Regions from separate parts of the Homo sapiens genome. Here all the other regions are linked to region 1. The links are contacts of gene promoters, found by promoter capture Hi-C in blood cells and fetal thymus (Javierre and others, 2016). All regions are on one chromosome and are shown on one strand. The core of a region is centred on a gene start or on the middle of the fragment in contact, and the rest is flanking DNA. Distances in the headings are between cores, read along the strand shown. Region 1 holds the start of EXT2 (exostosin glycosyltransferase 2). Region 2 has its middle 68 kb from the start of CD82. Region 3 has its middle 6.0 kb from the start of CD82. Region 4 overlaps LOC105376646 (a long non-coding RNA gene).

Region 1 (5,815 bases), core at 1,551-4,050:
CAGGTAATCCACCTACCTCAGCCTCCCAAAGTGCTGAGATTACAGGATTGAGCCACCGTGCCCAGGCTGCACCCCTGCCTTTATAAACCTGTGCTATACTGGACCCCTTTTGTAAAACTGCCAGCCTAGACTGAAGTGACAGTGCTCCCGACTCAGGACACTCCAACCTCACCCCTGTAACACACAGAACCAATCCTCCCAAAACAGTTTTCACATGCCAAAGCACAGAGAGATGGAGTATCTCCAAACCATCATCCGAGGAAACAAGTCATAATCTCTCTGTCCAGTGAGACTGCTCCCTACCACCAAGAAGTTAAAATCCCCGGAAGATGACAGACTGAAAGGAATCTTCTACTAATGAAGGTTTATTCCATACAATACCATAACCTGGATCAAAACAAGAATTTCAGCCCTACAAACTTTATCACCTTGAAACACATCAAACCTGCCCCTGCAAAACACTGGAATCATCTGGCTAGCTGTCAAGCACTGAGTCACTGGAAAAGTCTTTTAACCCCAACCTATTGTGAGGATGAGATGCATTTTCTGTTCCTGGAATTATTTATTCCTAAAATTTGCCTGAATAATCTTTCCTTGGTGCTTCAGGTTATAGCCAATCCACTTAGTCCAATGTTTTCAGTCACAGTCTCTTGTCGTTTCAACCTTTTTATTTTTATTTTATTTATTTATTTATTTATTTATTTATTTATTTATTTTTTGAGATGGAGTCTTGCTCTGTCACTCAGGCTGGAGTGCAGTGGCACAATCTCAACTCACTACAACCTCAGCCTCCCAAGTAGCTGGGATTACAAGCGTGTGCTACCACACCCAGCTAATTTTTTTGTATTTTTAGTAGAGACAAGTTTTCATCATGTTGGCCAGCTGGTCTTGAACTCCTGGCCTCAAGTGATCCACCCACCTCGGCCTCCCAAAGTGTTGGGATTACAGGCGTGAGCCACCGCGCCTGGCCTCTTCTTAACCTTTTTAGAAAGGGCCTTACAGCTGAACTCCTGGGGCCACTGCCACACTGGATCTTAACCCAACCATTCCGAAAAACAGAGGAACCAAATATAAGCAAAAGCAAAAAAAGCCACAATTCATTGCCTTACTTGATAGGATTCTTTATAATTAAAGTTATGTTATGGCTAAATGCCCCTAAAAATTATTTTCAATTAAAAACAATGCCCTTTTAATCATGGGAATTATACCATAAGACAATGTGTGTCATTACATAATTAATATGTAAATCTTACTAAGCACTTACTACATGCCAGGGTCTGTTTTAAGCACTTTATAGTGTTAACTTATTTAATCTTCATAACAGCACTATAAGCCAAGCTATTATTACCCTCATTTTACAGATGGGGATAGTACAACAGAAAGTTTAAGTACCTGGCCCAATATTACACAACTGGAAATGCCAAAGCTAGGATTCACAGCATGGCAGTCTGGCCCCAAAACTGATTATCCATTCATACCCTCACATGCAACCAGGAAGTCGGGGAAAGTGAATGATGGAAACTGAATCATCTATTTTATTACAGTGAATAGCCTTTGAGTTCTGAAAGTTACAAACTAAGTCCAGTTAAAGTACATAGAGCACTTACCTGACTTACAAGAAGTTAAGACTTACAAGAATTTAAATGTACATATTTCAAGACCATATCTTCACATAAATAAGTCAAGAACCTTTCTAGATTAGCATTGCCCAATCAGTAACACCAAGCAATTCTTTGATTCTCAAAATTGTGTGTTTAGATCTGGTTCCCACCGAATGTAACAAAGCCCCAAACACCTCTGGACTTCAAGTTGAAGCCCAGAGCCAGTGTGCTTCTGGCCACCTAGTCCCGAGACTAACATGCCCCTGGCCCCGGCCCGACACACCCCCGGGCCACCTAGTCCCTGGCCTAACATGCCACCAGCAATCTAGTCCGCAGTCTAACATACTCCTGCCCCGTCCTGACAGGCCCCCGGCCACCCAGTCCCCTGCCTAACACGCCCCCAGCCACCTAGTGCCTGGCCCAACATGACCCCGGCCACCCAGTCCCCGGCCTAACACGCCCCCGGCCATCTAGTTCCCGGTCACCCAGTCCCCGGCCTAACACGCCCCCGACCACCCAGTCCCCGGCATAACATGCCCCTGGCCCCTTCCCTACCTCGTCCCACGGCTTCTGGCACCGCAAGGGATGCCGCAGGCCACCACCGGACCCTGAGGCGCAGGACATCCCCCTGGGAGGAATCAGATCCCTGTGGCTGGCGGGAAGGTGGCAGCAGGAAGGGAGGGGTCACGGCGGAGGGCGGAGGGCGGGTCGCAGGAGGAAAGGAAGGAGCGGACTGGGGGCGAAGGTTGGCTAGGAGAACAGGTGGGTACCAAGATGCTGAAAGCGCGGCCGCCGCCGGAGGAGAAGGAGAAGCAGGAGTGGAAATCGGAGCGCTCCAAAAGCGGGCAGTCATTGTCACAGCCCCGGCGGGGCTGGGGGTGGCCTCTCGCAGCCCACGGGCCTCCACGGAGCCTCCGCGCGGCCGCGCTCCCTCGGCCCTTGTCCCGACCCAGCAGCGGCCCCCGGAGGCCCGAGCCCTCGCTTCAGCGCCCGCCCGGCCGCCGCCCTGGAGAGCCGCGCTTACCTCGGCCACGGCTGCCTCCCGCTCGGCCCCGAGCTTGGTCACCGGCTCATGCCGCGGGGCGCGGGCCACCTCCGCCCAGGTCGGATCGGTCCGAATCGCCAGCCGCCACTGCCAGGGCCGAGTCTGGGCTGGCGAGCAGCGAGCGAGGGGCCGGTAACCGGGATCCGGGCCGTCTGACACCGAGCGCACTGCGCATGCGGGAGCTGCCGGGCCGCGCCTCCTGCTGGACAGGAGGAGTCCGAGCACCGCTGCAGTGTTTTCCCAGGCAGGCGCGCTCAGGCTCCGCAGTGAAATGCTCAGACAGCCTCATTCATAATTAAAGAATCCTTAAACCCAAACGAGACACCACGCGTTGCTTATAAAACTAACAAATATGTAGACGTTTTATTATAATCAGTTCTGGTGAGCGTATAACATTCCTGGAGGGCAATTTGGTACTATCCATCAAACGGAAAATGCTGGTACCCTTCATTCCAACAAGCTCTCTGTACGGAGTTTGCCCTATGGATATTCTCAACAATGTTTGTCAAAAAGTTCCATGACAGCATTCTTTCTAATCATAGCGAAATGCTAGACACAATCGAAATAAATTATGGAATTTGATTGATTTGAGTAATGTGAGATAGTGCAATATATTTGGGTAAGGAAATATCTCCAAGATATTAGTTAAGATCAAAGCGTAGTCCAAAACAGCGGGCAAGTCACTTTTAGGTAAACTATGCATATGCAAAAACAAGAGGGAGAAATATATAAAGTAGGTGCTTATATTCAGGCATGTGTATAACTTTTTTCTGGAAGGAATGCAAGAAGAAATGAACAGCTTCAGGTGGAGTAGTTGTCGAGGCGGAAATGGAAGCATTTATGGCGAGGAAAGGTGGCTCACGCCTGTAATTCCAGCATTTGGGGAGGCCTAAACGAGAGGATCGCTTGAGCCCAAGAGTTTGAGACCAGCCTGGGCAGCAGAGCAAGACCCCATCTCTACAAAAAATAAAAAGTTAACTAGGCATCGTAGCACACGCTTGTAGTCCCAACTACTTAGGAGGCAGAGGCAGGAAGATTGCTTGAGCCCAGGAGGTCAAGGCTGCAGTGGGCCGTGGTCGTGCCACTGCACTCCAGCCTGGGTGATAGAGCAAGACCCTGTCTCCAAAAAAAAAAAAAAAAAACGCATTTTTGTTTTGTATCTTTCTCTATTATTTACATGATTTAGCCCTATCCATGCACACTAAAACCGCTGTCATAAAGCAGTAAGTGGAAACTAAAAAATTAAATTAAAATTCAGAGCGATGTTATTGAGAGGTTAATGAAATGACCCCTGGGCCTGCGATGTTGGTTTGGTAGAGTTGTGGGTCTGGCTACAGGATCCAAATCCCTTCTGGTCCCAGATGTACTTTGGCGCCATCTGGTGGAAGTTGTCACTGATAGCTTAAATATTCAAAGTGATGATTCTGAGACTAGATACCTACAGAGGCTTCCGGCAGCAACCTCGATTCCAGGGATATTTTTGTGAGTTAATGCCTGCTTGTCACAGATCTAGGGAGATTGGGATGAGGACATTCTGGGGATGGGACACTCATGTTCTGCTTCCCCACATCCAAGGGGGCATTGCTCTGCTTTCCAAATCAAATCCCCCCTGCAAATGATACAAAATGTAGCACACACCCACCCCATTTGAGAACTGGATGGGTGGAGAGCAGTGACAATCACCACTGGAACTGTATCCAAATTTATCTTATCCCAGGGAATATTGTTTTCACTTTTTGAAATAAGTCAACAATAGCTATCTGGTCTGGAAGATTGTGGCCTCTTTTTTTCTTCTCCATATTTATCTGTATTTTAAACATGTATGTTTTTAATTAATCCTTTGTTCTTTTATAAAATGAGAATTTGCCGTGTTAAAGAACTGTGTGAGGCACAGCCTCACACAATGCTGCCTATCTTCTTCATTTTTTATAACCTTAAACTTGCCTAATGCCTGGCATATAGTTAATTGCTCAATAAATAGTTGTTGAATGGAGAAAGGATGCCTAGACACTGGGAGGAGCTAACTAGAAATAAGACAATAAGATTATTCAAAGGAGAAGGTAAAAAGTGGCATAGAAGCATATAAACAAAATGCTACAGAATTCAAAAAAAAAAAAGAGGTGACATCCAGTTGGAAAAATCTAGGAAGAGTTCAATCAACAGTTGATATCTTTGTTTATCCTGGAGGACACTTAGTATTTTGACAAGCAGAGAGGTGAAAAGGGCATTCAAGGCAGAGAAAGAAAGTCATGAGCATGTGTTAAAGAAGGAAAAGCAGCTGGGCAGAATGGCTCACATCTGTAACCCCAGCACTTTGGGAGGCCGAGGCAGGAGGATCACTTGAGACCACAAGTTCAATACCAGCCTAGGCAAAAAAGTGAGACCCCCATCTCTGCAAAAAAAAAGAGTAATAAATAAAAATAAAGAAGGAAAAGCAATCAGAAAGAGCAAGTGTTTTTCAATCCAGTGTGGCTACATTTCTAGGCATAGAAACCATGCAAGTGAGGGAGGTGGGAAAATATAGAAGATGTGAAATTAGAAGCTACATGATGCGAAAGTATCCAAGGATGACTTCAGGGAGGAGTGGGAAATAAATTATAAGCCAGGACCTGAAGTTTCTGAGAAGGCAGAAAAGCGTCTTAGTAGCTGGTGGTTGAAGGAGGAGAGGTTGTAGAAAGATACTGCTTTACTGAATTTGAAGTTACAGGGCAAAGCAAAGATTACACAGATACCCCCTTACCCAGTGAGTCAGGAAATATGAAAGTCAGGATTAGAAAGGGAATGGCTTTCGTGGAAAATAGTGTCATCAGGGGAAAGTGAGTTTCCAATTAGGAGAAAGAGCTGGTGTAGGGTTGAATCCCATATTTAGCACTTCCTCTAAATACAGTTGATTCTTGAACAACACAGGTTTAAACTTTGCAGATCCACTGCTGTGCAGATTTTTTTTCAACAAAAGTTACACCAAGTGTGCCTGCCTCTCCAGCTTCTCTTTCCACCTCTGCTACCTATTCTGCCTCTGCCACTCCTGAGACAGTGAGACCAACCCCCCTTCCTTCTCCTCCTTGGCCTACACAACATGAAGATGAGGAGGATGAAGATCGTTATGACTTCCACTTAATGAATAGTAAATATATTTTTCTTCCTCCTGACTTTCTTAATAACATTTTCT
Region 2 (5,410 bases), core at 131-2,630, 400 kb before region 1:
GCCTCTTACAAACTCAAATGTAAAATAGAAGGGAAAATGATACCTGGCTTGTAAGATGATTGAGAGACCTAAATAAGATGGGACATATGTAAAAATTTTAGCACAGTGCTTGTCATATTGTAAGTTCTTGATAAGTTATTATTATTACTGTTGTTATTTTGGGGTAAGCATCTTATTTTAAATTGTATATTTAAAATGTTTACACTAACAGACCCACAAAGGCCCAAACCTTCTATATGGATCTTCTGCCTAATTTAGAAATGTAAGCAGTTGTCCGGGCGCGGTGGCTCACGCCTGTAATCCCAGCACTTTGGGAGGCCGAGGCGGGGCGATCAAGAGATCAGGAGATCGAGACCATCCTGGCTAACACGGTGAAACCCCGTCTGTACTGAAAAAAAATACAAAAAAAAATTAGCCGGGCGTGATGGCGGGCGCCTGTAGTCCCAGCTACTCCGGAGGCTGAGGCGGAAGAATGGCGTGAACACGGGAGGCGGAGCTTGCAGTGAGCCGAGATCGTGCCACTGCACTCCAGTCTGGACGACAGAGCGAGACTCCGTCTCAAAAGAAAAAAACAAAGAAGAAATGTAAGCAGTTATGGTATGGACGCAGCCTCAAAATTAGTAATAAAAATATTAATAACCAAGCCATGTGCTAGTATAGAAAAATCACCTACGGGAGTCCACAAGCATGTAATTCTAATCTCAGTTCTGCTGTTTACTAGCTGTGTGACCTTTGTAAAGTTACTTTACCTCTTTGAGGCTCTGAATCTGGCTCTAAAGGGCCAGATCCTTTACATACATCATCTTCAATACTCATGGGTATCACCCTGTCTCTGGCTCTCAGTAAATACACAGCAAATGGTAAGTATTATGGCAGATCAACGGTGTCAATGTCCCCCTCCTTGTTATCTACTCCTCTTTGTATTCTTGCCATCTGTTATGTAACGTTTTAGTGTCCTTCCTCTGCAACTCAGACATGTGGCCTGCTTTGACTAGTGGGATGTTAGCAGATGTGATACAAGCACGTGTTTTAAAAAGCTTCTGTACATTTCCCACTTCTCTCTGGAGCCTTTGTACCTGCCATGGGAATATGCCCGGGCTATCCTGTTGGAGGATGAGACTTGTGCAGCAAAGTTGAGTCAGCCAGTCATCTCAGACGAGGGCATCCTAGATCAGCCAAGAGTTGGCCGACTCCAGACATGGGCATAAGCCCAGCCAAGATCAGCAGAACTTTCCAGACCACCCACGGCTGACAGCAGATGCATGAGCCAGTCCAGCCAAGGTCAGTTGAGCCCAGCCCACACCAATGAAACTCCATAGACTCTTGAGCCAAATCTATGTTTATTGTTGTGTGCCTCTGAGTCTTTGTGGTTGTTACTCAGTATTATTGTGACAAGACATAATGGAGGCAGATATTAATATGCAACCTTCTGGGTGCTTGCTTAAGAAATATGGACTCTTCCAGATGGGCCCTAGGGGATCTGGGACCCAAAGACATTGACAGTTGTAGTGAGAGTTCACCCTTGTCTTAATAGCTATAAGATTATTTAACTGTGAACCCATAATTGTCAAAATCTAAAATGTAATAACTCAACTTTGTTGTTTTGTAAATAGCCAAGAATAAAAATGCCAGAAGCATTAGTGATGTTGGCCAGATGAAGGAATTGGGAAGGGAAAGGCAGGCAGATCACCTCTCTTTATATGTCTTCAAACTCAAAGCTTGCAGACTTCTTGGCCCCAGAATTATAAATTAGGCCCTTCTCCTGAGGACCTCCTCTGCTTATTACGCAAATCTGATTCTAGAGCCTCTGAATGTGATGGTTTTAGCCAAATCCTGGGTAATTTGTCATTGCTGAACATAAAATTTGCTTATGAGCCTGCAATCCTTGTAGCTCCCAGCAGCCTGCAATCCTTGTAGCTCCCAGCAGCCTACAATGGAGGGAATCTGTGCAAAGGTTGAGAGCGCAGCTTGGCATCAGGCACCCTGGACTTGAATCTCAGCTCCCCTGCTCTGCAGCTGTGCAACTTTAACCAAACTTGGAATCTCTCTGGGAGGTTTTTACAGTAGCTCCTCCTTGGTAAATAGAATAAACTTGGTACCTGTTTCTTAAGGTTCAGTGAGGTAAAGCAAAGAAGGCATCAGCACACAGGAAGTGCTTAATGATTTGTAGTTGTTATTAACGGTCCTTTGATCCTAGTTGCAACATTTAGCCTGTACACCTCACACTGTCCCAACAAGGGTCAGCCTTGAGACCTCAGGGTTATAATCGATGCAATGCCCCATTCTTCCATTTTTAGATTTCCCAAGCCTCTTCTCTGAGACTCAAGCCAGTTTTATTTCTTGGGCCAGACTCTCAAATTATCAGATAGCTAAGAATTATTGACAATCCTATCAGTTAAGGTAAAGTTAGTTGATGTTATGGATAGAGGAAATCCCAAGATCTTAGTGGCTAAACACAATAGAATTTTATTTCTCATTCACACGAAGTCTGAACGGCAGTGGAATACCAGGGAGATGTACTCAGGTCCTAGGCTGACGGAGGCTCTGCCGTCTTTACCCTCTAGCTTCAACAGTCCTCCTGGGCATCAGCATTCAGCTGGCAGCTAGGAGAAGAGAGAGGATGTGGAGGACCACAGCAGGTATCGAACAGGCCCAGCCTGGAAATGGCTTATTACTCTGCTCACATTCTACTGGACCCAGAACCAGTCACATGACCACACACAGAGGCAAGGGGGCCAGGAAACATAGTCCCTGGCTGGGCTGCTGTTTTCCAGCAACGACTCAGCTGGGGAGCATACACTTTTGGTGCACAGATGGCCACCTCTGCGTCAATGGCCAGCACTCCCTGAGCACCTACCATATGCCTGGCACCATGTGATGCCCTTTTCACCCATCATTCATGGATGCTCACGGTAACTCTATGAGGGAGACACCCTTCTCATCACCTGCATTTTCCAGCTGAGGAGTGAGACCCTGAGAGATGACCTCTAGCTGCAGGGCTGGCTCTCAGAAGCAGTGGTTTCCTCTGTGCTCTGCTAAGTGTTCTGGCAAGGTGGGTGGGGTCCATTTCTGAACTTGTCCTGGAAGGCTACCTATTGGTGCTGTCTGACCAACACCACCACTGTCTCGCCAGCCTCTGTATTGACCATGCTCCATCACCCCCTGTGCAGAGACCCTGGGCTGGTCTCCCTTCCCAGCATCACCACCCCTCAGCTCTTGCCAAGCCATTAGCCCTTCTACAGCTCTACATCAGGCATGCCTTTGCTCTGCCTTCTGTCATAGCCAAGATCAGGCTGACCAGCTCACTAGATTTCCAATGTTAATGTGTGAAAGAGCCACAGGGAGGGCTTTGTGCTCAGCTGCCATGATCGCTGTGGCTGCGGGGGGTTACCACCTGTGGCAGACAGAAAAGTGCCCCCTCCTCCAGAGATGGTCACATCTTAATCCCCTGGAACCTGAGAATATGTTGCCTTACATGGCAAAAGGAAATGTGAAGATGTGATTAAGTTAAGGATTTTGAGATAAGAGATTATCTGCGATTATCTGGATAGGCCCAGTGTAATCACAAGGATCCTTATGAGAGAAGCCAAGAAAGTCCAAGTCAGAGAGGAAATGTGACAATGGAAGAAATGGTTGGAGTGATGCACTTTGTGGTTTTGTTTTTTATTTTAGTCAACAAATATTTATTGTGTGTCTGAGCAGAGTGCTGAATTCAGTACCGTGATGGCAGGGAATGAATACAAAATTAAGAAAAGCAATAATAAAAATTATAAAATTAATGATACAATTTAGGTTTTCTTTTTTTTTTTTTTTTTTTTTCTGAGATGGAGTCTCACTCTGTCACCCAGGCTGGAGTGCAGTGGCTCAATCTCGGCTCACTGCAACCTCCGCCTCCCGGGTTCAAGTGATTCTCCTGCCTCAGCTTCCCCAGTAGCCGGGATTACAGGTGAACACCACCACACCTGGCTAATTTTTATACTTTTAGTAGAGATGGAGTTTTGCCATGTTGGCCACACTGGTCTCAAACTCCTGACCTCAAGTGATCCGCCCGCCTCAGCCTCCCAAAGTGCTGGTATTAGAGGCATGAGCCACTGCGCCCAGCCCAATTTAATTTTTCTAACAAGCCTTTCCTCTGGGCATTATAATCCCCATTTTATAAATGTGCAGAATGAGAAAAAGAAAAGTTAAATTACCTGCTTAACATCATATAACTACATGAATGTTCATGATTTGAACTCAGGTTTATTTGCAAGAAAACTGTTCTGCATTTATGTCAAATTTGAGAATAACTGGCCCTGCTGTCAAAAGGCTCATTATCTAGTGATAGATACCAAAAAGTATATGATTAGCAAAAGGACTAGGCAGATTTTGGTGAATACATATGGGTTTAAACAAAATGGTAGCCAAAACACAAAATACATCGAGAATAGCAGAAGAGGAGAGGACAGTAGCTGGAGATGAGATTTTATGAAGTTATATGAAGAAATCTTATGAAGTTCCTGACTTGCCATGCCAAGGTATTTTATTTTGTGTGTTTTCTTCAAAATGTTTTATGTGTGATTATTTTCTTTTTGAGTTGGAGTGATCCACTTTGAAGATGAAGGAAGGGAGTTGCACCTCCTTTCTCTAAAGTGAGTCCCTTGGTCCTATGCAATGTTATGCAGGCTCCTATGTGGATGGATGAACACACTGTAGACCTTGGGTGGTATTGGCTGAAGCCCTGTGGGCAGAAAGGGTAAACTCATACCTCGAATATGTGTCAATTCCAGTGGAGATAAAAGTCTGTTCATTCCGGGGTGGAAGGAAGCCAGTGTCATCACTTGCCACTGAGTAGCTATTTGGGCTCCTTGAGGGAAGAGGCCATATCAAGGGCTTAGCATGGATCACATTGCTGGCAAGTTGGATATTTAGCAATAGCTAGATCAGTCTTGATGATGGGATCTCTCCTATGTAAGGCCTCCATCTCTGCCACTGTGGCCACTCCATTCAGATGCTAATTATGCAGGCCCTTGAGTGACTGATAACGGGTTGGCTGACATCATCTGCCTGAGTTATTCTGTCTGCATCATTGTCTAGTGCCTCTTCTGAGGGAGATGCTCTCTGATGGTCACTGGGTCAACAGGAAGATTTTCAGGCTTTATACCCATTCTTTTAAATCCATCCACGTGTTTCCTCCCCAAGAACTTCTTGCTCCTAATCTTCCAAATGTTCTCCTTCTAGGCTCCTAGACAACCAGTCAAGCCACTTGCCACTGCCCATGAGTCCATATACATTCTAACTTTGGGCCACTTCTCTTTCTGCACTAGATGGATGATCAGGTCAGTGCTCACAGCTCTGCCCCTGGGAGAATCTCCCTCACCACTGTTTTTCAGTACTAGCCCTGAGTGGGGTCATATTCAGTAATGGGCCA
Region 3 (5,684 bases), core at 948-3,447, 460 kb before region 1:
CCTCTCTATGAATGCACATTCCAGGGACAGGATGTACCCTCAGGAGGATGGACCTGGGCAGGCAGCTTTGTAAACCTTAAAACTGGCTGGGGGGCTGAGCACAGTGGCTCACACCTGAAATCCCAGCCCTTTGGGAGGCTGAGGCAGGAGGATTAAAGAGCTCAGGGGCTCAAGACCAGCCTGGGCAACAGGATGAAACCCTGTCTCTACAAAAACTACAAAAATTAGCTGGGTGTGGTGGCGTGTGCCTGTGGTCCCAGCTACTCGGGAGGCTGAGGTGGGAGGATCGCTTGAGCCAGGGAGGCGGAGGTTGCGGTAAGCTGAGATTGCACCACTGCACTCCAGCTGGGCAACAGAGCAAGACCCTGTCTCAAAAAACAAAACAAAACAAAACAAAACAAAACAAAACAAAACAAAAAAACTGGCTTGGGCTGGATAGGCAGTCTAGGTTTTTAAACACCCAAAGCATGATCAAGGTCAGGTGTGGGCTCTGGGTGGCCACAGGTGCCCTCTTGTCCAGGTCTATGGTGACATTGCCATTTGGCCTTGTCTCCCCAGCTTCTAGCACATGCCTGGAAGCTTAAGGGACAGTTGTTGAGTAGATGTGCATCTGAGTCTAACTTAGTCCATTTTCTGTTGCTATAACACAATACCATAGGCTGGGTAATCGATAAAAGAATTTTATTTTGTATAGTTCTGCAGCCTGGGAATTCCAAGGTTGAGAGGCTACATCTGGTGAAAGCCTTCTTACTGACTCATCACATGGTGAGAGGGCAAGGGCATGCCACCGCAGGTCTCTCTTCATCCTATTATAAAGCTACCAGTCCTCATCATGAGGGCCCCATCCTGATGACCTTATCTAATCCTCCCAAAGGCCCTACCCCCAAATACCATCAACATATGAATTTGGGGATTCAGTTTCCAATACATTCAAACCATAGCAGAGTCATTCACTGAAATATCACATTGGGTTGGCTCCCTCAGCATTGTCCCTATCCCCTCTCTTCCAGCAGAAGGCAAGCTTTGTCATGACTCACCTTGGGCATTTTGCCAGGCAGAAAGCGCAGACACTTCTAGTGAGACTCTACCTCTAGTCCATTCTAGAGGTGGAGCCAGGAGTTCTGGAGGTGGGAAAAGGGGTGAGAAGAACCACCCTAGAAAGCCTTGAGAGAAGATATCCATGGCCAACTTGGAGATGGGGAAGACGGTGGTGTGGCAAGACCTCAGAGAGGTATGGCTATAGGATTGCCAGGCTCTCAGAAGATTCCCCCACCCCAAAGGTGGAAGATGAACAGCTGAGCAGGAGACTTCAAAGAACTTGTAGGCAAGAACATGGGGGCCAGTTCCCTGTTAGTGTCTGGGCCTAGGTTAAGGCCCCAAGACTTTTGCACATCTCTGGTGGAGGAAGGTAAAGAGAATGAGTGCGGGTATCTGTTTCCTACTGTTATGTAACAAACCATCCCACTCATTTATTTTGCCCATAAATCTGCAGTTTGGGGTGGGCTCAGCAGCAACGGCTTATCTCTGCTCTACGCAATGTCAGGTGGTTCAATTGGAGGTTGGGGATCCATTTTCAAGATGGTGTACTCACACACCTAGCAAGTTGGCACTTGCTGCCAGCTGGGAGGTCAGCCAGAGCTGTGGAGGCCTTTGGTCCTCTCCATGAGGCTGCTCCACAGGTTGCTTGAGCTTCTTCATAATTTGGCTGCCGGTTTTGAAGAACAAAGACTCACTTAGAAGTGCATGGCATTTTGTGACCTAGCCTTAGAAGTCATATAGGATCACTTCCTTTGCATCCTATTAGTAGAAGCAGTCACCAAGGCCCTGGTTCAAGAGCAGGGTACATAGTCTCTTTCTTAACCAGGGGGTAACAAAATTCTAGAAGAGTTTTCAAGAAAGGAGATATTGTTGCAGCCATCTGTGAAAAATACAATCTGCCCCAAGCGAGTCCTCAGAATGACTGGAGGAGGGTTTCTCTGATGGGAGCTGAGAGTTCAAACTCAATTGATTGTTTTAAAAAATGGTATACAGTATGTATCACACAAGCATTTGTGCACAAATGAATAAGAAGTTCAGCAGTGGACAACTGGTCTTGAGTAGCTGGATGTCTTTTTTTTGTTTTTTTTTTAGATGGAGTCTCACTCTGTTGCTCAGGCTGGAGTGTGGTCGTGCGACCTCGGCTCACTGCAACCTCTGCCTCCCAGGTTCAAGTGATTCTCCTGCCTCAGCCTTGTGAGTAGCTGGAACTACAGGTGTGTGCCACCACGCCCAGCTAATTTTTTTGTGTTTTTAGTAAAGACTGGGTTTCACCATGTTAGCCAGGATGACCTCGATCTCCTGACCTCGTGATCCACCCACCTCGGCCTCCCATAATCCTGGGATTACAGGCGTGAGCCACCGCGCCTGGCCTAGTAAGTGGATGTCTTAAGATCTTTCTTCAAGAGTCCTCAGAATAGAGTTAGCACTTCCCTCCCTAAACCTGCACTGTTTCCTTAAAGTTACAAACTTAAAAATTGCACTCATTTAATCCTGATAGCAACAACCCAGTGAGGCACATACTATTATGAGGCCCATTCCCAAGATGTGGAAATGGAGCACTCAGATGCTAAAGTCATACAACTAACAAGTGATGGAGGAAAGTGAAGTTGCAGCTTATATATAGCTAACCCAATTTTCAGTTCCTGAAATTGAGCCCTAGGGGAAAGGCCCAAGTTGGGACCCAGTGAGCGCCCAACACTGAATCGCAAAAGCTCGCACTGGATCAAGGAGGTTCCCCAGGGCCTTGAAGGGACCCTGCTTCCTGCTTACAGAAAGAAGGCTGGCCCCAGAAAGCTGGGCTCCAGCACTTGCTTGGCATAACCCCGCCCTATCCTCTGTCCTCTTGCCGAGTCTCAGGCCAGGAAGTGGTTAATAGCACTTTCCCACACTTTCTGTTTCCATTTCTCTATTCCTGAACACAGTCATTCCTGCATTTGAATGGGCTCAGCAGGACCACCGACCTTTATTTTTTTCTCCAAAGCACTTAAAGGGGATTGGAACTCTAAGCCCATTATAGCTGGGTTGTAGCTGAGGACAGGGGCTGAGTTCCCACAGAAGACACTGAGCCATTGATTTGTTCCTGTCTCAGTCATTTCAGAAAGATCAGTGAGGCCCCTGCTCAAATCCTGCCCTGCCGCCTACTACATCTGAAGGTCCAGGGGTTACTCTTCAGGGGGCTTTTAGCCCCTGTACATTGCCATGTTGCCATAGCAACTACGACACTAATAATGGCAGCCACCGTTTTAAAAGTAAGCTGTAAAATAACTAATTTAAATATATTTAACTAATTTGATAACTAGCATTTGCGTAGCACTTTACATATTCTAAAGCTTATTTATATTTATCTTACAACTGTGGCACTTGGGTAAGTCTTTGAAACTATTAAATCATGTCCCCCCCTCCCCAAATTCCCTGTTCTACCCGTTTATTTTTCTTTTTAGGCATCAGCTTAAACCCATGGTAGGGTTATATACATCCCAATATATGTCATTTGTTTATAATAGATATGTATGTACTATTTTATTAGCCATTTTGCATAATATGAACTATGCACAAAGACAAATATTTTATTTTATTTATTATTATTATTATTATTATTATTTTTGAGACAGATTCTCACTCTGTCGCCCAGGCTGGAGTGCAGTGGTACAATCTTGGCTCATTGCAACCTCTGCCTCCTGGGTTGGAGCAATTCTCCTGCCTCAGCCTCCCAAGTAACTGGGATTACAGGTGTGTTTCACTCACGCCCAGCTAATTTTTTTGTATTTTTAGTAGAGACGGGGTTTCACCATGCTGGCCAGGCTGGTCTTGAATTCCTGACCTCAGGCAATCCACCCACCTCGGCCTCCCATAATGCTGGGATCACAGGTGTGAGTCACTGCGCCTGGCCAAAAAACAAAAATTTTAAATGATAATTATTTAAAATATTGTATATATATATCTATAAAATAAACAGAAAGCAGTCCTATTATTTTCTCCTTGAACCCCAGCGGATCACATTGGAGACCATCGGCCACGCCTTTAGGGAGGGATTTTTGGAAGAGCAAAGCAGAAGAAAGGGGACTACTCTGGGCAGCGCTTTTTCAGTCTCCAGATAGAAGCACACCTTGGAGCTGTTGCAGGTTCCTTTCCCAACCACCACACTGAAGCGAATATTGCAATAAAGTGAGACACACAAATTTTTTTGGTTTCCTAATGCATGTAAAAGTTATGTTTACCCTCCACCATAGTCTATTAAGTATGCAATAGCATGTCTAAAAAATGTGCATACCTTACTTAAAAACTGTTGATCCTGGCCAGGTGTGGAGGCTCATGCCTGTAATCCCAGCACTTTGGGAGGCCGAGGTGGATGGATTACCTGAGGTGTGGAGTATGAGACTAGCCTGGCCAACATGATGAAACTCTGTCTCTACTAAAAATACAAAAATTAGCTGGGTATGGTGGCGGGCGCCTGTAATCCCAACTACTCAGGAGGCTGAGGCACGAGAATTGGTTGAACCCAGGAGATAGAGGTTGCAGTGAACCGAGATCACACCACTGCACTCTGGGAAACAGGGCGAGAGATTCAGTCTCAAAAAAAAAAAAAATTGATCCAAAATTCTGACAAAAAGTGAGTGCATACTGTTGGAAAAATGGCACGGACAAATTTGCTCAGTTCAGTTGCCACAAACCTTCAATTTGTAAAAAACACGTTATCTGTAAAGCGTAATAAAAAGCAATGTATGCCTGCACTCATAAGCCCCTGAGATGGATGAGGAGGTGCTGCAGAAAGGGGAACTCTCACAGCTGTTCTTCGGTGGAGCTGCACTATATCAGTGGGGAGATCTTTCCCTGAATCAGGCCTGAGATCTAAAAGAACACACCTGTGGCCCAAGAAGCTGATGGTGTAGACGTTCTCTCCCTTATACAGTTGAGAAGGCCAAGGCTTAGTTGAGTTGAAAAAGTTTTGAATTTGTGGCCAGCATTTAAAAATTGGGGAATTTTATGTTGATTTTTAGATGTATAGGGATAGGGACATCTGAGCCTCCTGCTGTGCCTTCCAACGGGGCCACAGCGGATGGACCTGAGTTGTGGCTGACCTCTTTATTTGCGACATATGACCTCCAGCTGGCTACAGTCCCCACTGTGCCTATGGCTCATCTAGCCTGCTTCCCTCATTTTTGTGACCTGCCTGGTTCCCATGGGGAACTGAGTTTGCAATCCGGGGAGCAATACTGGCTGAATTCATGTTCATATTGAGAGCATTCTGAGTAGCTGGCAGGGCCACACAGACCTTAGCGGGAAGACAGGGACACCACTTTCCAGGATGATCCCTGTGAAAACTGCCATGTTTGCACTGCCCTCCTCTGTGAGACATGGTTTAGCTCAAGTCCTTGCTCTGGTAACTTTCCAACATGTGACTTTGGGCACATGTGACCTTCACCTCTCTGGGTTTGTTTCCTCACTGCTTACGCTGCAGGCAATGCACATACAATATTTGCTACTTTAGGGCTATGAGATGCACTAGTTAGTTGTGTCCAAGTCATTCCTTTTACCAACAGAAATGAAGAGAAAGAGGAGAAAAAAATAAATAAAACCAAAAACCTCATCACTCTTTTCTCCAAAATGAGCATTTATCGCCCTCTGGTGTCCACCACAGCGCTCAG
Region 4 (5,620 bases), core at 1,170-3,669, 420 kb before region 1:
ACATCCTAGAACCCTGGCTCAGCCACCTGCTGGCTGTGACCCTGGCGGGGCATGTCCCTTCTTTGGATCTCAGTTTTTCCACTCTGTAAAATGGGTTGATCATCATAAGGCTGACCTCACCAAATTGCTATAAGGATCAAATCAGAGGACATATGTGAAGTCCCATTACTGTGCATATGTGAAGTCATATCACTGAATCTATGGGATGCCAGACTCAGAAAAACAGTAGCAAGGGAAAAAGAGAAAACTTGTTCCATGTTTGCTGATTTTCCCCAAGGCTGGTGCTTCACGGACTTGACAAGCACTTTTGTATTTTGGAATCAGACAGACCTTGGTTTGAATCCTAGCAAGTGATTCTCCAAGGCTCAGTTTTCCTGTCTATGAAATGAATGGATGAACACAGTCAGTAATAAAATACTGAAATGCTGAGCACAGCCCCTGGCTCATAGTAGAGCGCAATAAATGGTTTAGTTAATATCACAGGTTAAAGACGAAGAATAAGGGGGATCCCTGCCTTGATGGACAAGGAGAAAAGCAGGGCCCTGATGAGGGAGCCCCGCACTGCCAGGATGGAGCAGGAGTGTCAAAGGAAGCCTTCCAACAGCGGTGGCACAGGCGCCAAGGCAACAAGGAAGGGTGGGAGCTCTGCAAGGCACCGGGCACTCCAGGCAGAAGGACCTGTGTGGGGAAAAGCAAGGCAGCTGGAAAAAGCAAGCGGAGCTGCGAAGGCGCCAAGGTATAAACACAGACCAAGAGCCAAGGGTGGGGCCGGTACAGGGGGTCACTGGGAGATGCCAGCACCCTCCACCCAGGCGTCCTTCGGGGCCAGCCAACCTAAGGAAGGAGGCCAGGCCTCACGCCCCTCTGTGCCTGACCCCTAGCCACACTGCCCTGTGGGGCCCGGCCTGGTTTCCCCTCCACTGCTCAGGGCGGAAATCCAGCAGGGGCAGCCAGGCCGACATCCAACCCTCCCACCGCAGGCCTGGCCTCAGCCCCTCTCCGGGCCTTTAACGAAGCCATAAATCCCCCGCAGGGCCGTGGGAGGGGCGGCGGCCCTGCACATGTCCCGGCGGCCGGACAGAGGCCGGCATCTCTGGCTGGCGGTGACTGAGCGCCCCGACACCCCATCACTCATTCCCCGCGCCCAGCTGCCCCCGCCTCGGCAGCAGCCCATCCATCTCAGCCGGCAGCTTTCAAGTCCGGCCCCAGGCCCCTCTGCTTAGTGTTAAGATGAGCCCGGCTCACGCGGACTGTTCTTATTTATCTGGAGGTTCGTCCCACTGTGGCCATCACTCTGCGGGGCGGCCCCAGTTCCCGGGACAGGCCCCCAGAATGCGATCCTCCTCCGTTTCCTTTCCCGCCCCCACCTGGCAACGCACAGAGAAGGCCTGCAGCCCGAGGGCGGATTTGTTTCAGTCGCAGGTCGCTGGGCGTTTTGACCTCTGCTGTTTTCTTGGAAGGCTTTCAGCAGCCCTTTGAGGCATCAGTGTCCGTGCTCTGTAGCGGTGGAAACTGAGGCACAGAGAGGGAAGCTCAGAGTTCTCCTGGCTGTCTGGCTCTGATGCAGGACCAGTGGCCAATCTTTGGCCAAATCCTGCGAGGCCTCCTGGGGCCTTTGCATGGCTGCCTTGCAAGTTTGGTCAGATCAATTTTCGTCCAGCATTCTCTGCTACACTGCAAAGTCCTCCAGGGCAAGGATCCACTCACGGAGGCCTTGCTGGACTCAGTCATGGGAAGGGGGAGATTAGTGTTGGGGTTTTGGGCATGTTATGCATTGAATGTTTGTGTTCCCCCCAAATTTACATGTTGAAGCCCTAACCTCCAATGTGAAGGTTTTAGAGGTGGGGTGTTTGAGAGGTAATTAGGTTGAGATGTGGTCATGAGGGTGGAACCCCCATCTTGGGATTCACGTCCTTATAAGGAAAGGAAGAAACACCAGAGTTACACCTCTCTGTCTCTCTCCTTGCCACTTGAGAACACAGTGAGAAGGTAGCCAGGAAGAGAGCCCTCACCAGGAACATAATCTGCCGGCACTTTGATCTTGGACTTCTAGCTTCCAGAACTAGGAGCAATAAATGTCTGTTGTTTAAGCCACCCACCCTGTGGTGTCTTGTTAAGCCAGGCCAAGCTGACTACAACAGAAGGGTCGTTCTGGAATCAGATAGAACTGAAGCCCTGACTCTGCCACCTCCCAGCTTGGGGGGAATCGTTGATGTCTTAGTCACAGTTCCTCTTCTGCAAAATGAGCACAAGTGCCAGAGCCCTCCAGGTCACACATGCAAACTTCCAGGAGCCATGTGGGTCTGTCAGGGAGCTCCATGAAGGCCCACAGCTTCATTTATGATCACCATCACCCTCTCAGGGGTGCTTGGCATGGGGTCCTCAGAGGGCAGATGGCCTTCTGGGTTTAATCTTGTCATCTCAACAGTTCAGGGGCCCTCGCAGACCAGACATATTTTGCCTGTGGTCAAGGAATCCAGGCTGGGCAGAGTCTTCCATCTTGGAGGCGACTGGAATTCTGACAGCCAAGCATGGAAGCCACAGTCATCTCTCAGAGGATGACCACCTGTGTCTTTGAGGAATAAGAAGGGGGAAATAAATTAATTATTACTTTAAAACAAAGTTTGTTCAAGAGATAGAAATCTTTCAAAACACAGGATAATAAAAGCCACCTCCCTTGGGGAAAAGTCTGGGAAGCTCTAACTTGGTCCTGCCCCAAGCCCCACACCCCCACCAAGAGCCCTCTGAGGGGCGGTCTCCATTCTACAGGGGAAGATATTGAGTGTCAGAGTGCTGACCTGACTTGCCCCAGGTCACACCTTTAGAGGCCAGGCCAGGCCAGGCCTCCGCTCTGCAGAGGTAGGGCCCTTGGGCAGGAAGAACTGGCCTGGCACAGGCTTCAGGCAGACCCGCATCCCTGCCTGGCTCTGCCACCTGCTGCTGAGAGATTTTGAGCAAATCACATCTCCTCATCAACCAAGATGGTGTGAAACCACTTGAGTGAGTTAAAGCACTGTTCTCTAGGTGACAAGGCTCTAGTGCACATTTTCAGAGATGGGGTCTGGTTCCTCCTGACCCCCCAGGTTCTGGTGTCCACGGTCCCCAGTTCCCACAGCCTCCTTCTGCAGCCCCTGATGCCTGTTCTAGGGGCCGAGGGCTAGAGGTCTGGCTGCCAGGGTGAGGTGGTGCTTCTTAGAATAGGGTCCCTTGTCTTCTGCTGCTTCCCAGACATGGAGATCTCTTTGATCATGGAAGATGGGCTAAAGATGCTTGTATCTTTGAATTTTTGGTTATAGTCCTTTTGGACCTCGGGACATGGAAGACAGAAGAAGAACTGGCTTATTCATGGGGAGGCAGCACAGACATCCAGGCTGCTATTTTTACACTTGGAAAATGGATGAGAGGGAGGTTGGTTAAATGATCTGTTAGGAACCTCCTGGCTGAGGGTTGGCTGCAGACATCCCTGGTGCATCTCCTGCAGGAGGCAGGCTTCTCTGGGTCCCTGTCCACCCAGAGGATTGCAAACCCCACAAAGCCCAAGCCCAGAAAGATTTGAGTGACCAGCCCCTTAGAAAAATCAGGATCAGAGAAGGAAAGTGGTTTACCCAAGACCACACAGGATATGAATGGAGAAGCCCAGGGAACAACCCAGGTGTCCCGACCCCAGCCCAGGGCTCACCCACTGCACCATGCCATGTGCGTTAAACAACCTGATTGTTGAATGAATGAACAAATGAAAGTTCATTTAGAAGCTCTAATCACCTCCCTCTCTCTTCTCCCTTATTCCCTCCCTTCTTTTTTTCTTTATTCTTTCTTTTCTCCTTCCTCCTCTCCCTCCTCCATTCTCTTTACACACACACACACACACACACACACACCCCAAATGTCTGCTCTGGGCCAGGTCTTGTCTTGGCTACTGGAACACTAACTAGCTGACCACATGCCTGTCCTCTGGTGACTCTCAGAGAAGTGGGCAAGATCCTCTCAGAAGCCCCCAGACCTTGCTGGGTGCCTGGGAGTCCCTGATCTCCCTGGAGCCCAGCCTTGGCTGCCTTCTCTCTCTTCTGCAGGTCACGCCCAGGATGTGAAGGGGTTAAAAAGCACAGGGCAGGGCAGGCCCACGCTCACTCATTTGGCCCAGCCACCTATCCAGGCCACTTCTGGGGGCTTGCAGTGTTTCTTTTTCTCTTCCTCCTCTCCTTTTTTTTCTAAAGAAACATATGTCACTCGCCATAACTCATGTGCTTATTATAATTATGACCATATGCTTAATGGGATGTAATAAAACCACTGCTAACCTGGCCCCTGCTCACAAATCTCCCCCCATCACTCCCACTCCACTGGCCGATCTGCCGGCCCCTGGGCTGCTTCAAAATGTTTTCATGGCAAGACTGACCTGAGGAAAGGGGAGAAAAAAGGGGAAGTGAGCTCAGTCATTCATTCTTTTGTTCATGTGTTCATTCATTCATCCATTTGCTACTTATTGAATACCTACTATGTGCCAAGTTCTAAGAGGGCACCAGTGAATGGTACAGACAGAGCTGATGGGAAGGGTAGATGTCTTATAAACAGATAATTCAACATTTATTTAATTACAGCTAGCCACAGAGGAGACTGCATTACAGGAAGGCCCACCAAGACTGAATTGTTGCCTTCCAGAGCAGAACCACATCTGATGCATTAATATACACTGTCCTTAGTAGGGCTTTTATAAATATTTGTTCAATGAATAAATGAATGAATGAATGAGTGAGTTGTAGATCAGAAAATGCTTTCCTGAATAACAGAGATTGAGTTATAAAATAATGCCTCCTAAGAGGAGTGCATAAGCGAATCCATGGGGTACATGAAGAAAATAGTAAAACTTTCATTTATTGTTATTTGTCAATCTTAAAAACAAGATACCAAAATTTTCTCTGATGTTTTATGCACAGATTGATGGCAAAGTATATGGCATATGTATGTAAAATTTATAAATAGTTATGCATACAGTTGGCGGAGGGTGTGCTCAATGTTTTTTGATTTGTTTTGAGACAGAGTCTCATCCTGTTGCCCAGGCTGGAGTGCAGTGGTGCAATCATAGCTCACTGCAGACTAGGCCTCCTAGGTTTAAGTGATCCTCCTACCTGAGCTTCTGAAGTAGCTGGGGCCACAGGCACACACTATCACACCTGACTAATTTTTTATTTTTTTTAGATAAAGGGTCTCCCTATGTTGCTCAGGTTGGTCTCAAACTCCTAGGCTCAAGCAATCCTCATGCCTTGGTCTCCCAAAGTGTTGGGATTACAGGTATGAACTACCATGCCCATCAATGTTTTTACTGTTGGAGAGGGATACATGATCAAAAGAGTTGGGAAACCTCTTGTTTTTGCCTGCGTGGGCTGCCATACAAAGTATCTTAAGTATCTTAAACAATACCTTAAACAACAGACATTTATTTCTCATGTCCGGAGTTCTGGAGGCCGTGAAGTTCAAGATCAAAGTGGTGGCTGATTTGGTTCCTGGTGAGATCTCTCTTCCTGGCTTGCAGGCAGCCACCTTCTCACTCTGTCCTCACATGACCTTTCCAGAGAGAAAGAGAGAGAGCTCTTCCTCTTCTTATAACATCACCCATCCCATT

What was found. The method cuts DNA at HindIII sites, captures the fragments that hold promoters and counts their contacts. A CHiCAGO score of 5 or more calls a contact.
Region 2: a fragment that was not itself captured here is called in contact with the fragment with the promoter of EXT2 in region 1 in 1 of 17 cell types (endothelial precursors); the score reaches 6.4 in endothelial precursors.
Region 3: a fragment that was not itself captured here is called in contact with the fragment with the promoter of EXT2 in region 1 in 5 of 17 cell types (endothelial precursors, naive CD8 T cells, total CD8 T cells and 2 more); the score reaches 8.3 in endothelial precursors.
Region 4: a contact is called between a fragment that was not itself captured here and the fragment with the promoter of EXT2 in region 1, in 1 of 17 cell types (endothelial precursors). The highest score is 5.9, in endothelial precursors.

Annotation. Positions count from the first base shown.
Region 1 is chr11:44,092,663-44,098,477 of GRCh38, reverse strand. It overlaps EXT2 (exostosin glycosyltransferase 2), which reads right to left and starts at 2,800. Exons shown (of 14, transcript NM_207122.2): 1 at 2,626-2,800. RefSeq lists an enhancer at 1,844-1,893 and a silencer at 2,314-2,933. The HindIII fragment of the contact is 9,066 bases long and covers 1-5,815 here.
Region 2 is chr11:44,494,583-44,499,992 of GRCh38, reverse strand. No RefSeq gene overlaps it. Among named protein-coding and RNA genes, the nearest start is that of CD82, 68 kb to the left of the region's middle. The HindIII fragment of the contact is 681 bases long and covers 1,040-1,720 here.
Region 3 is chr11:44,556,809-44,562,492 of GRCh38, reverse strand. No RefSeq gene overlaps it. Among named protein-coding and RNA genes, the nearest start is that of CD82, 6.0 kb to the left of the region's middle. RefSeq lists enhancers at 1-156, 157-658, 2,694-3,330. The HindIII fragment of the contact is 2,347 bases long and covers 1,024-3,370 here.
Region 4 is chr11:44,515,787-44,521,406 of GRCh38, reverse strand. It overlaps LOC105376646 (a long non-coding RNA gene), which reads left to right. Exons shown (of 5, transcript XR_931232.1): 4 at 472-736; 5 at 2,429-2,580. It overlaps LOC105376645 (a long non-coding RNA gene), which reads right to left. Exons shown (of 3, transcript XR_931229.1): 2 at 5,419-5,562; 3 at 4,237-4,396. Among named protein-coding and RNA genes, the nearest start is that of CD82, 47 kb to the left of the region's middle. The HindIII fragment of the contact is 9,306 bases long and covers 1-5,620 here.